Regions from separate parts of the Homo sapiens genome. Here all the other regions are linked to region 1. Evidence: promoter capture Hi-C in 16 types of primary human blood cells and fetal thymus (Javierre and others, 2016). All regions are on one chromosome and are shown on one strand. The core of a region is centred on a gene start or on the middle of the fragment in contact, and the rest is flanking DNA. Distances in the headings are between cores, read along the strand shown. Region 1 has its middle 3.7 kb from the start of RMDN2. Region 2 holds the start of STRN (striatin). Region 3 holds the start of HEATR5B (HEAT repeat containing 5B). Region 4 holds the start of SRSF7 (serine and arginine rich splicing factor 7).

The links. Contacts are between HindIII fragments. The CHiCAGO score rates a contact against its expected background, and 5 or more counts as called.
Region 2: a contact is called between the fragment with the promoter of STRN here and a fragment that was not itself captured in region 1, in 2 of 17 cell types (fetal thymus and erythroblasts). The highest score is 6.2, in fetal thymus.
Region 3: the fragment with the promoter of HEATR5B here is called in contact with a fragment that was not itself captured in region 1 in 1 of 17 cell types (activated CD4 T cells); the score reaches 5.2 in activated CD4 T cells.
Region 4: a contact is called between the fragment with the promoter of SRSF7 here and a fragment that was not itself captured in region 1, in 1 of 17 cell types (total CD8 T cells). The highest score is 5.2, in total CD8 T cells.

Annotation. Positions count from the first base shown.
Region 1 is chr2:37,920,092-37,923,118 of GRCh38, reverse strand. It overlaps a transcript of RMDN2 not described here. Among named protein-coding and RNA genes, the nearest start is that of RMDN2, 3.7 kb to the left of the region's middle. The HindIII fragment of the contact is 626 bases long and covers 1,231-1,856 here.
Region 2 is chr2:36,965,059-36,968,085 of GRCh38, reverse strand. It overlaps STRN (striatin), which reads left to right and starts at 1,550. Exons shown (of 18, transcript NM_003162.4): 1 at 1,550-1,856. The coding sequence starts at 1,623. RefSeq lists a silencer at 1,060-1,869. The HindIII fragment of the contact is 8,803 bases long and covers 1-3,027 here.
Region 3 is chr2:37,082,959-37,085,985 of GRCh38, reverse strand. It overlaps HEATR5B (HEAT repeat containing 5B), which reads left to right and starts at 1,614. Exons shown (of 36, transcript NM_019024.3): 1 at 1,614-1,717; 2 at 2,550-2,697. The coding sequence starts at 2,572. It overlaps GPATCH11 (G-patch domain containing 11), which reads right to left and starts at 1,468. Exons shown (of 9, transcript NM_174931.4): 1 at 1,416-1,468. RefSeq lists enhancers at 1,377-1,536, 2,007-2,106. The HindIII fragment of the contact is 3,413 bases long and covers 1-2,494 here.
Region 4 is chr2:38,749,746-38,752,772 of GRCh38, reverse strand. SRSF7 (serine and arginine rich splicing factor 7) reads left to right here and starts at 1,412. Exons shown (of 8, transcript NM_001031684.3): 1 at 1,412-1,544; 2 at 2,579-2,759. The coding sequence starts at 1,517. RefSeq lists an enhancer at 908-967 and silencers at 1,828-1,927, 2,138-2,327. The HindIII fragment of the contact is 14,475 bases long and covers 1-3,027 here.

The DNA.
Region 1 (3,027 bases), core at 294-2,793:
TTCCCCTCCCCACTACTAGGAATGTCAGTCTAAAAGGAATATCTGAAGGAAAAACCAGAACATACTAAGAATCTCAGAGTTGCTGTTATTCATCAAACCAGTACGGCATGACAATCATTTGGGAGGAGTGGGTACAGACCCTTCACGATTTGCCCCAACCTACTTTTCCAGCTTTTCTCCGCTACTTCCACCAGACATCATTCTACACTTCAGCACTAGCTAAGCTACTGATCGTCTCTCCACAAGCTGTATCCTTTTTATCCTGTTCCTTGTGCCTGGAATATCCTGTTGCTTGCCACCCGTCCAAAACCAATTCAACCACTTCAACCTCTTTCCCTTGAGAAGCTACACACTCTCTCCTTCCCCATAAGAAGTATTCATCCATGCCCCATCAAAACTTATGGAAGGACCAGGAGTTTCAATGAATACAAAATGCCTCCCTGCTAGCTTACAGCAAACCTCTCTGGTGTACACTATATAATTACTGCTTGCCAGTGACTGTGTGTTTGTGAGGCTGTGAACATCTTCAAGGATGGTAGCATTTATCTTTGTATCTTGGGAACCTGGCATGGTGCACACCCTCTATATTAGATAACTATTTGAAAGTAGTATGTACATTTGAGGGAAAAGCATGAGGAAATGTATAGTCCTTCATTATAGTAATGTGAGATGGGAGTGTCAATTTTTTTTTTTTTTTAGGTTTTATTTGAGTGGTTTTATTTCCAGGAAGCAATTGAATGACAAAGTTAGTTTTAACCCTTTAACAGTTACCAATATGCTATATAGTTAACTATTCATTTTCTAGTTCCTTGTTGTTATTTCCAAATCTTATCAAACTTACAAGCTGAATTTCTTAATTTGTAAACTGAAGGCTGAGCTGCAGGTATAATTAGTACCACTATGAAATCCCCAACCCCCGCTTCAAAGAGCAGAATCAACCTTCATTTCCAGGCTGGTTTTAAGAAAGTATTTTAAGGAAAGGGTTAAGGAAATATTTTACTGCAAATAGCTGGGGAAAAACTTTTAAATTAAGAACACCCTAACCATTGAGAGAGAGGGATTTAGAGAGGGAGAAGCGCACAGGCAAAGAGCAGGGGCAGAGGAAGAAGTCCCCCAGGTGTAACCGAAGCTCTGAGTTCCCCGAATCATTTGTAAACGAGGAGGAGCAAAGGGCAGCAGCAACAGGTACAGCAGGAACATTTATTGAGTCTTCTACACAGTTTTCAAGCTTCGTTCTTTATATGAATTATCTTATTCCATTTTCCCAACAATCTAATGAAGTAAATAACATACAGGTGAGGAAACCAAGGCTTCAAGAGGTGAAGAAACTTGTCCCAGGCCACATAGTCAGTTTTAGAGACAAATATCAAACTTAACTTTGTCTGAGAGCCTTTTCTCTTAACCCAGCCCATCTTGGACCCCCAGACCCTGCCTTTGATAGAACACTTGAAGGGACTCTTCATAGCACCATTTACAAGAACATCATAGCCCTTCTAATGTGATATTACATCATTTGTATCCCCCACTTCAGTTATTTAGGGTTCAGCTTTCACTGCTTCTGTTAGAGGAGAAACTGAATTCTCAAATCTGATCATTTGCCCCATGGGGGGTTTTCTGCAGTTTACCACAACCTCTAATCCACAGAGTATAAAATTACTTTGTGTTTATGATATTCAGGTTAGGCTAGGAATAGAATTTGGGGAAAAGAGGAATATAATACTATGTCTGATGTAGTTTTAAAAAAATTAGGCAGTCTCTAGAACACAGGAAAATTACAAAAAAAATTTCTGAAAAGAAACTAACTTGGACTTTCTAAGGTAAAAATGTTTTATCTGAAAAAAGCATTAGGATAAGCTTATTAAATATTTCCATAGACTAAGTGATTAGTGCAATAAATTATTAATCACTTAAATCCAATAAAATGGTTGGCCTAATACTCCTATACTGAACAAATTAAAAATGGTATTTTAGGAAGATATGTATGAAAGAAAAATTAACAACGATATTTATGTTATGCTACTTAGCAGTTCAATGTTGAATCAATTTATTAAAAGTATACATACCTAATTAAGATATAGAATTCTTATTAGAAACTTTCTATTTCATTAGAAACATTAAGTTTTTGTTCCATGAAAAAAGTCATTTTCAAAAAGGCATGTACTAACCTTGCTCAGTGGTTTTCCGCAGTATTTCGGTGATGATTCAAGAAAAGAATGACGTTTCTTTAAAAATTGTGGAAGATTTTTTAAGTCACATTCCTCCACTGATTTTCCATGGCCTTTGTAAATAAAGCACAGCCTTGGATACAATCCAAAGTGGAACTTGACAGATTCAGAGGAAGAGTGGTTTTGCCCCTCCCTCTGCATTCTTTCTTCATCCTGGGAGATGATGTTCAGGGACACTGTTGACAGTATATACATCAACTTCACAAGCTAAGGTCAGTTTCACTGGCGCTAATTAAAAATAAAGGTGAATATTCATCATCATCAGACAAAATGTTGTTAACACGTGTACAAAAAGTTAAAATAACTGGATATGCTTAATTACATATAATAATTGGAAAAAAATTTCATTTTGGACTTGGGTGGTAAGTGGATTTTATACAATATTCTGCTGGGAAAAATTGGGGTTAGCAGTTTTCCAGACTTACTGTCTTCAGACTATACAAAGGAAAGTGATTTTCCCTTTCGGAGCAGACCCTTTTCAAGAAATTGTTCAGTAGACAGAGCCCCTGGGCATACAAATAAATAAACAGAGAGAATCTACTCTCATATATTGCAATAGAGACACATTAATTAACCAACCGTTGTTAGAACTTTTTGCATTTTATAAAAATTATACTCCTATCATTATTAAGACACATATTTGGACTCTCAGAGAAGACAGTCTAGAAGAAGATGAAAACTGAAACACTACTGTAATGATTTTAGAAGAAATCCAGACTAAAGAGAGTAACAAACCCATATGGATTGTGATCCAAAATAATTTTAATTTGATTGTTTGGGACATGGGACATATCATGAAAAT
Region 2 (3,027 bases), core at 301-2,800, 960 kb after region 1:
AGAGAAGAGAGTTCTCCATCTTTATTTGCAACCAGAGCAGACACAATGTGTTTCCTGTCCTTTCTGCAAGTAGCCATGGGAAAGGGGGGGAGGGGAGAGAGGACAGGGACAGGATGTCTTTCCCTGACATGTCACTCAGCAGCCTAGATCTTTACATTTTTTCATGGCCATCAAGTCTGATAACCCACAAGTACGTCCTACAAAACGTAAGAATTTCAGATAACTTGTTAGGGTGACAAAATAAGTGCTTAATTTCATTTGCATTTGTTAAATTGTTTTCAGGGGCCTTCCTTTTTGCCACTGTTGTAGTGTGAATTTATAGTGACATATTGTCAGACTTCGGAGAAGGCAAATATTTACAGAGAGTAACTTGAAAGGACTTTGGTGTACCTTTGGTAGGCGGATGCTGTTGCCAGTTGGCAGGTGAATCGTGAAAGAAACTGGGAACAGGACAAGTGAAAACGGAGAGGGGCCAGGATATCTAAGACCGCGCTAGGGAGCAGAAAGGGAACTTGCTTTTTCAAGGTGGTGTAGCTTTTAAATTAAGCCTTTGTGATATTTGATTATACGCCAATCTTTGATGACAGAAACGATGTCATTTATCTTAATATTCCCAGCGCAAGAGAAAACCGATAATCAAAATATTTGTTCAATTAAGTAGAGTAAAAATCAGCGGGAATAAGATAGGAAAAATGAGACCGAAATAACAGAACATCTATTATTGGATGCTAAAACTTTTACAGGATTTACTGCAGGAGGACTGCAAAGGGAAAGAAACTTCAACGGAGCAGTTTTTCAGATGGGCTGTCAACAAACCACAATTTGGAAGCAGCAGCAGAAAGCTGCGGCGTTGTCTTAGAAAGGTGATCGGCGTTCCTTAGAAATGAAAACTGGTCAGGTAACAGGTTTGAGCCCCTCGAGTCAAAAGAGAAAGGCAAGAGCGACAGCGACCCGCAGATTGGCAGAATGGAGGAGCGTCTAGGGTGAGAGAAACTCCGAACACGAAGCCGAAGCGAGAGCACGCAGGGCAGCTGGCGGGAGAACCCCGGTCCCGCGGCCGCACCGGGTAGCTCGCTTTGAGCCTGTTCCTTCACAGAACGGCCAGGAAGCCTTAAAAGATGTGCAGCTCGGGCAGGTATCTTGGCGTGACAACTTCCGTGTGTGTGTGTGTGTGTGTGTGTGTGTGTTTTTGAATGCAACAGGGTGCGCCGCCCGCGAACTTCCGCGTGCGAGGAAGACTGGAGACCCGCCCGCCCGCGCCCAGCCGGCCCCAGAGGAAACCCGCTCTCCCCGCCCAGCCGGCCCCCTACGCGGCGAGCCGGGGCGGGGCGGGCCCGAGGCCACGCCCAAGCTGAGGCACAGCCCTACAGGCCGCCCGGGCCGCGCTAGCCCGCGCCCCGCCCCGCGACTACATTTCCCGGCAAGCCCCGGGCCGCCAGCGCGCCGCAGTTGACCCATTTCCCGGCCCGTCACGGGCTCGGCCGGCCCCCGCGCCCAGGAGGCTGCTCCCTGCTGACTGGGGTGTGGGCGGGAGCGGCGGAGGGAGGAGGAGGCGCTGCTTGCCGCCGCTGTTGCCTCCGCTGCTGGGCGCCGGGGCAGCTCCCCGGGTATCTGCGGCCGCCATGGACGAGCAGGCGGGTCCCGGCGTCTTCTTCAGCAACAACCACCCGGGCGCCGGCGGTGCCAAGGGGCTCGGGCCTCTGGCGGAGGCTGCCGCGGCCGGCGACGGGGCGGCTGCGGCGGGGGCGGCCCGAGCCCAGTACAGTCTCCCGGGGATCCTGCACTTCCTGCAGCACGAGTGGGCCCGCTTCGAGGTGGAGAGAGCCCAGTGGGAGGTGGAGCGGGCGGAGCTGCAGGTAAAGACCCTCCCGGCCTGGCCGTCTTCATCCCGCCTCTTTGCTCCCTTCCGCCCCGCCCCGGACCCTTCTCCCCCTCCCCCAGCCTTCTCGCGTCCCCTCCCCCTTTGCTGCCGCCCATCCCACCCGGAGCCCCGTCCCCTTCTTCTCTTCGCCTTTTGCCTTTCGCTGACCCCACCTCGACCCTGTTCTCACTCCCGCTCCTGGTGCGTTGTTTACCCTCCCCACGCCTGTTCGTCCGCCCCATCCCACTCTTAACTCCCAGACTCATTTCAACTCTCTGGCCATCCTGCATCTCAGGGCTGCCCTCTCGGTTTACTAATTGGGCTGGCAGTAGTTTTGAGAGACGCGGAGCAAATCGTCCGCTGCCCTGGTGTGCCCCTTCCTAGGTCTAGAGACAGTCTCCGCAGAACGTGCCGGCTTTGGCCCCTCTCTTCAAGGAAGGTGATCAAGAAGACAACAGAAGTTGTGTCAGGCCTTGAGTCGAGGCGAGAAGTTGACGTTGGGCAAAAGTGTTATTCATATATCAGATCCCTTTTTTTATATATGTAAATGTCTGTTCTCCACTTTCTTCCGACCCCCCGGCCCCCTCCCACGTTTCTTTTAGGTATTTCCAATTAATGCATTTTGAATGAAGGACCTAGATGATCGCAGTCAGAGAGAATGGTTAAGAGGTGGTTCCTGTTCTCAGAATCTGAAACTTCCCAAGGGTTAATTTTATGTTCAGTGTTTTGGGAGATTTTCTTGTGCTTTAAAAGGAACTAAAGGGACTTTGAAGTTAGTTACATTGCCTTGCATAATCTGCAAGATAAAGTATATCCAGGGAGGAGATAACTGTGGGCTCTGAAAAGAATGAAAGTGAGGCTGATACTTTACAAGCCATTCAGAATTGGTGAATAGGTTTTCAGTGGTTGTTCTTAAAACTTCCAGGGCATACACACCAATTTCAAAAGGAACTTAAAGAACTATGAATAGTTGTGCCTTTCTGTTTTACGGGCTAAGCCTGTATACTTATGAAATTTGAGTATAGTTTTAGTTGGCAAAACACTTGAGTTTAAAATGCTACCCAGTGTGTCACTTTTTTTGGTAACATGTATTTGGCGCTTAAGAAAAAAAAGAAGAGGAGAAATCTGTTAAATAGAATCATGTGCTGGAACAGGCTCTGGTGTAG
Region 3 (3,027 bases), core at 365-2,864, 840 kb after region 1:
ATGGAGAAGGTCACACGATTGGAACTGAGTCCTCCTATTAAAAGCCAGCACAAACTCATGAGCCACAGGAGTGAGCTACCTTGGAAATGGATTCTCTTGCTCCAGTCAGGCCTTCAAATGACTCAGCCTGGGCTGGCATCTTCACTGCAACTTCTTAAGAAAGTCCATGCTAAACTAAGCTAAGCTGCTAACAAATTCCTGACCCATAGAAACTGTGAGATAACAAATGATTACAGTTATCTTAAGCTGCTACATTTGGGGATAATTTGTTATGTAGCAAAAGTTATCAGGAAGTAGAACCTTATCAGGCACCTGGGAGCCCTCTTTGTCCCCTATCCAGTTGCAACTCTCTTTTGGTTCTAAGAATAGTCACTATTCTGTTTTTTATGGCAATCATTTCCTTCATTTTCTCGATAGTTTTGTCATCCACGTGTGCATCTTTAAACATTACAGTTTAGTTTACCTATTTTTATTATAAGTTAAAAACGTGCACTATTATATACAGCATTTATGGTAATTCACCCGCTTCCTCTAAACCTCAGATTCTTCATTGGTAATAACAGCATTTTTACACATAATGGTTTAACACTTACCCAGTATATCACACATTTTTATCACATTTAACCACCACTAACAACTCTACAAGGTAGGAAGAGTTTTTCCTGTTGGAGAAATTAAGGTTCAGTATGGCTAAATGACTATTTCAAAACCACAAAGAATCCGGGTCATAGTGCCTTGCAAATAGGATTACATTGTTTTTAAGAGACCTACTTAACTTTAAAGTGCCAGGCACATCTGAATGGGGTTACAGGTTGCTTTTAAAGCTCTCTTTCTATTGGTAAAATATACTTTAGCATTATCCATTTCCATCAAAGATAAGCATAAACTTCACAAGGCGATACCCTGGCAGAGATGATGGAGGCTCGTACCAGAGTGATAGCAATGCAAGTGGTCGCATTTGGGGTACACTTGAAGGTAGAGCTTACAGGATTTGCTGATGTTGTAGGTAGTACGTAAAGAACGATGTCAAGATAACGCTAAGTTTTTGGCCTGAATACATGGAAGAACGGAGTTAACGTTTTTTGAGAGTGGGAAGACTGTAGGAGTAGGTTTGTTTTTGTTTTTTTAGGGGGCGTAGTCGGGAAACAGACATATTGAGAGTCCCATTACATATACAAGTGGAGAAATGGACCTACAGTATAAATGTGACAAGAAACGTCCCACTCTCAATACTACGCTCAGGAACCGCTGATCCCTTCCCTCACGCGTTCCTCCTGGCTGCAAGCGTCCCACAGACGCAACCACCCACGGATGGAAAAGTGGCTGACGGTGTGATACGGTAGTCATGGCCAGCGCACTCTGCCTTTTATCATTCTACCGGTTGTCCCCAGACCCTTACCTGACAGCTCTCTTACCTGACAGCTCTCTGCTCGCCCCGGTTCAGCGCCGTAGAGCGCGCGCTGCGCATGCGCCCACCGACCAGCGTCGGACTTCCGGACCTCGGCTCCCACCAGTTTCCTAGTGCAGACTCTATTGGAAATTCGCGGCGGGTGGGGATAGGAGGACGTGGTGACTGCGCTTGCGCAAGACCAGCCCTCCGCGCAAGCGCTCTTCCCTTGTTTCCTGCAGGTAGGAGTGCGGGAGGTGGGGCATCCGGGTCTCTTGGTGGCTGCTTCTACCCCCGGAGCTCAGCTGATCTTCCCTTCCAGACTACGAGGTGAGGTCGCCGAAGCATGCATGTTGACACGCACGGACTCCTGTCCGACGTACATTTTCAGACGGGTGGGGAAGACATTTGAGTTCGTAATGAACATTTTCCCTTTTCTGGCTCCGTGCTTAGTTCCGAGCTGCCGCCTCGTGCTATTGACAGCCTGCGGAACCCCACGGAGGCTTGCGGCGGCCTCTTGGTGTTTCCCCGGGTCCGCCGCTTGCGGTTCTTGGAGTAGCCAGGTGAAGCCAGACCCCGAGCGCGCGAGGCTTCTCGGGTGCATTCCGGACCGCCTGGTGTTGTCACTGACGCTTCGGCCGCCGGGCCTGGCCGCCCCACCCATCCGCGTAGGAAGAGTCTTGGAGACCTGCAGTTCGGGATGTCTGTGCTGGGTGTTTTGACCTCAGTCCCTCTGGCCAGGTGCAGCGCGGGAGGGTAAAGGTGCTATGTACCGAACCCTGGACGAGAAAAAGAGGAGGATGGTTGTCAAGCCCGGCTGGGGTGTTTGATCTTAGTGCTTCAGTTTTTTCATTTATAGAACGGGTAAATGACATATGTGTTGCTGGACATATTTCTTCTGGAATAATGCCTTTTTTGGCAATAATTTCTTTTAATTTTCTTTTCACTCCATGAGTCACTCTTCCTTACCAAGTAGTTTTCTTCTGTTTTTGTTTGTATTTTTGTCATTTAAAAGTATGTTCTCAGGTTTTGCCTCAAAGAAGTTGAGTTTTTCCCCAAATGAAATGAGTAGTCCTACTTTTCTTAGTGAGTATATTCCATTAAGCTTGACTTTTAACATTAAAAAATACTTACAAGTATTTTTTACTCTGTTAAATTTAAGGTGTGAATTTCAAACTTCCGTAATGGAGTTAGCCCACAGTTTATTGCTAAATGAAGAAGCTTTGGCTCAAATCACCGAAGCAAAAAGACCAGTTTTCATCTTTGAATGGTTGCGATTTCTTGATAAAGTCTTGGTTGCTGCCAACAAGGTATGGTATTGCTCTTTTTTCCCAGTTGCATTAACGTGAAGAGATTATGTGGTCATGATTCTTAAGAAAACACATGTTATGTTTTGGAAGGTTTATGGGTCACTTATGGAACTTGAGAGTATTACACGAATGGGAAATTTAGTGGCAAAACTCAAACCTCGTTTAAATCCAGCTCATTGCCTATCTTCTTTATGTTTGTACCTGGGCAGCTCATTGTAACTGGAGAAAAACATGGCTATATGACTGGTGTCACTTTAAATTTATCATCGTCACCCGTTGCAAGTGATCTCTCTATGCTGCCTAACAATCCCAGTGTCTTCACTTATCTCT
Region 4 (3,027 bases), core at 163-2,662, 830 kb before region 1:
TATAATTATTGTTTAATTCTTTTGAGAAGAACCTATAGATCTTTATAATTATTGTTTCTTTTGAGAAGAACCTTGTTAAGAAAAAAATCACCAAGACTAAGGGAGAACACATATACTCTACAGAGCTTCTATTTTCTTCTTAGAGATCTTCCTGAGAGAGATTAATTCTCTCCATAACTTAATCAACGTAAAAAATATGCATAAAATCATAGCATGACCTGGAAAGAATCCATGCTTTATTCACCAACTAGGCCTGCTTTCCCTGTACTCTCCATTCCACACCTATACTCACCAAATGAAGTTGCAAAAGACGAAAAAGATAAAAATGCAAATACCTAAATGTCTTTTTTTATGTACATTTCCAACTTTTGTGTATTCCAAGAATTTACGATGTAATGTCTATGTTTCTAGCAAAAAAGAACTTTTTCTCTATTTGTAGTTGGTGTCTAGAGCAATTCTAATGTAAAGAAGTTTTGCATTTATTTGGTACTGTTGAGTGGCTGAGCAGCAAGGCTGCTATTTCCACTGAGTGGAGATACACAAAGATGACTTAGGAGTCCCAGTCCTCAGGATCGGAGTATTGGTGGATCACACGTGTTACAAAGCAGAAAGCATTAGGAAAAGCAAATCAGTTACTTTGAGCTTCAGATGCAAATAATTTCCAAATTGTCACTGGCCAAAATGCTTTAAACATTCAGGGTTTTGTCACAATTTCAATATAAAGGGGGGAGGGGGGAGCGGGACCCCACAGCTCTATTCCTTTGTCTTTCAGACTCCAAGAACTCAGACCGTGGTGGTGCAAACTGGTGACTGGTTCAAAAGAAGTTGGAGGGGGCGTGTAGGACAGGAGGCTTTACCACCAGTCCCAGGGTGCGTCAAGGTCTATGGTGTAAAAACCACTACTCAGAATGGCGGGGTTCATGGACTTTTCACCATGGCCAAACCTTCGATTACCTCTGATGAGCCCCAAAGATCAGAGTAGCTGACTAGGCCAGGTCCCCCAGCAGAAGGGCGCGACGGCTGCAACATCAGCGGTTAAATTGTACAGCCTTTCATAGGCCGGTCTAATGCATCCGTACTAAGATTGTTAAGGCTGAGGGTCCCTAGCCTGGGGAAAAACGAAAGGAGGCAGAGGGTAGGGAGACGGGAAAGAAGACAAGGAGGGTGTAGAAAACGGGGAGAGGAGGGGGCGGGACAGCATGGGGAAGGCCTCAGGTTTACTGGAGAGATCGTGGCGTTCCCATAGAAACGTATCCCTCCGCCCATGACCCGCGTGTTAGTCTCTTCAGTTCCTTCCGCGTCGTTTCTTGGCTGTTTCCGCCCAGCTCCTTTGTGCCGCGCAGAACAACGAGATGACGCATGCGCAAAGCGCAGCGGCCGCATATATAAACGCGAACCCGGGCTCTTCCTCGTAGTGCCGCCGGGACTCTTGGCGGGTGAAGGTGTGTGTCAGCTTTTGCGTCACTCGAGCCCTGGGCGCTGCTTGCTAAAGAGCCGAGCACGCGGGTCTGTCATCATGTCGCGTTACGGGCGGTACGGAGGAGGTAAGAAGCTGGAGTCCGGTGAGGGACGTTGGTGTGGGTGTAGTGAGCACTGCGAGGCCGTAGGGTTGTCGCGGAGGTTGGGAGACGGTTATTCCGCGTGCGTAATGGCGGCTTAGGAGCACGCCAGACGAAGCCGGAGGCAGCGGAGGCGGGGTGCTGAAGGGAGACGGGATGGCGGGTGTACATCTCTGCCGAGTTCCGTACTCTTGGGCATTTTTGTGGCCCAATCCAGCCTAAAGCAGGGTTGAGATGACGGTTTTCGCGTTGCCTTTCTCGGAGCTGCCCGCCGGCCCCCCTCCCCCCCCGCCCTCGGCGGCGGCTGCCATTTTGCGCACATTGAGGACCGTGGTGGCGCATTTCCTCAGCGCTTTCCCGCCACTTCAGCGGACAGATCTGGCCGCAGCTGTAAGATCGTGGTTGTGTTTGAGATAGAACGAAATTGGCAGCTGTGAGCTGCATGTTCTCGTCAAACAATCGGTTAAATTGCGGAATGGGAATGGGGACGTAATCTGCGACTGGCGGCTGGGTTTTTTTTAGTTATTTCCAGCGCGGTTTATGGCTCTGGGGCGGGGAGCTGGAGTCTTGGGCGAGCCTGTGCCTGGGACGTTTGCCGCGGAGGACGAGAGCCGGCGCAGCCCTGCTCTCCTGGCCCGGCCCCTACCGAGGCCCTCCCGCCGCCGACGCCGCTGCCGCTGCGGGCCCGCGCGCTCCCGGTGCGCCCGGGGCTGCCGGGACTCATGGGTGGGGCCGGGCCAGGTTCCGCCCCACGCCTCGGTGTATCCTACCACGCGTTTCTGCTTGTGTTCGGGAGGGTCACCCCGCATTATTTAGAACGTTAAGAATTTTGTCAAAAGTCTAGTTTCTCAGGGATTTGCGGACTTTCACCAGTTTTACGACTAAGTTTTGTCTTGGATAGAGGGCATTAAATGTGCTTTACCCAATCTTGAGGATGGCCCGTTTTAAGGCAAATAAGTAATTGAAACTTGGGCCAGATTTTGCGTAACGTGCATTCTTCTATTTGCGTTTTTAAACAGAAACCAAGGTGTATGTTGGTAACCTGGGAACTGGCGCTGGCAAAGGAGAGTTAGAAAGGGCTTTCAGTTATTATGGTCCTTTAAGAACTGTATGGATTGCGAGAAATCCTCCAGGATTTGCCTTTGTGGAATTCGAAGATCCTAGAGATGCAGAAGATGCAGTACGAGGACTGGATGGAAAGTAAGTAAGATGTTATGAATCTTCTGTTCATTAAAATATACTGTGGCTAGATAATGAACTTAGTGCTAAATTTGGATTCTGAAGTCTGGAAGAGACCTTAAATAGCTGGTCATAGTGTTAAATGCTAAAGGCACACGAAGGTTAAAGAAGATAGCGGAGATGGAGTTAGGGCTTGGTAAAGACCGCCAAAGTTTGTTGGGGGGGAAGGAGTGGTTGGAAAGAGTGAGTGGTTGGAAAGAGTTCTTTTTAAATCTATAAGTCCTGAATA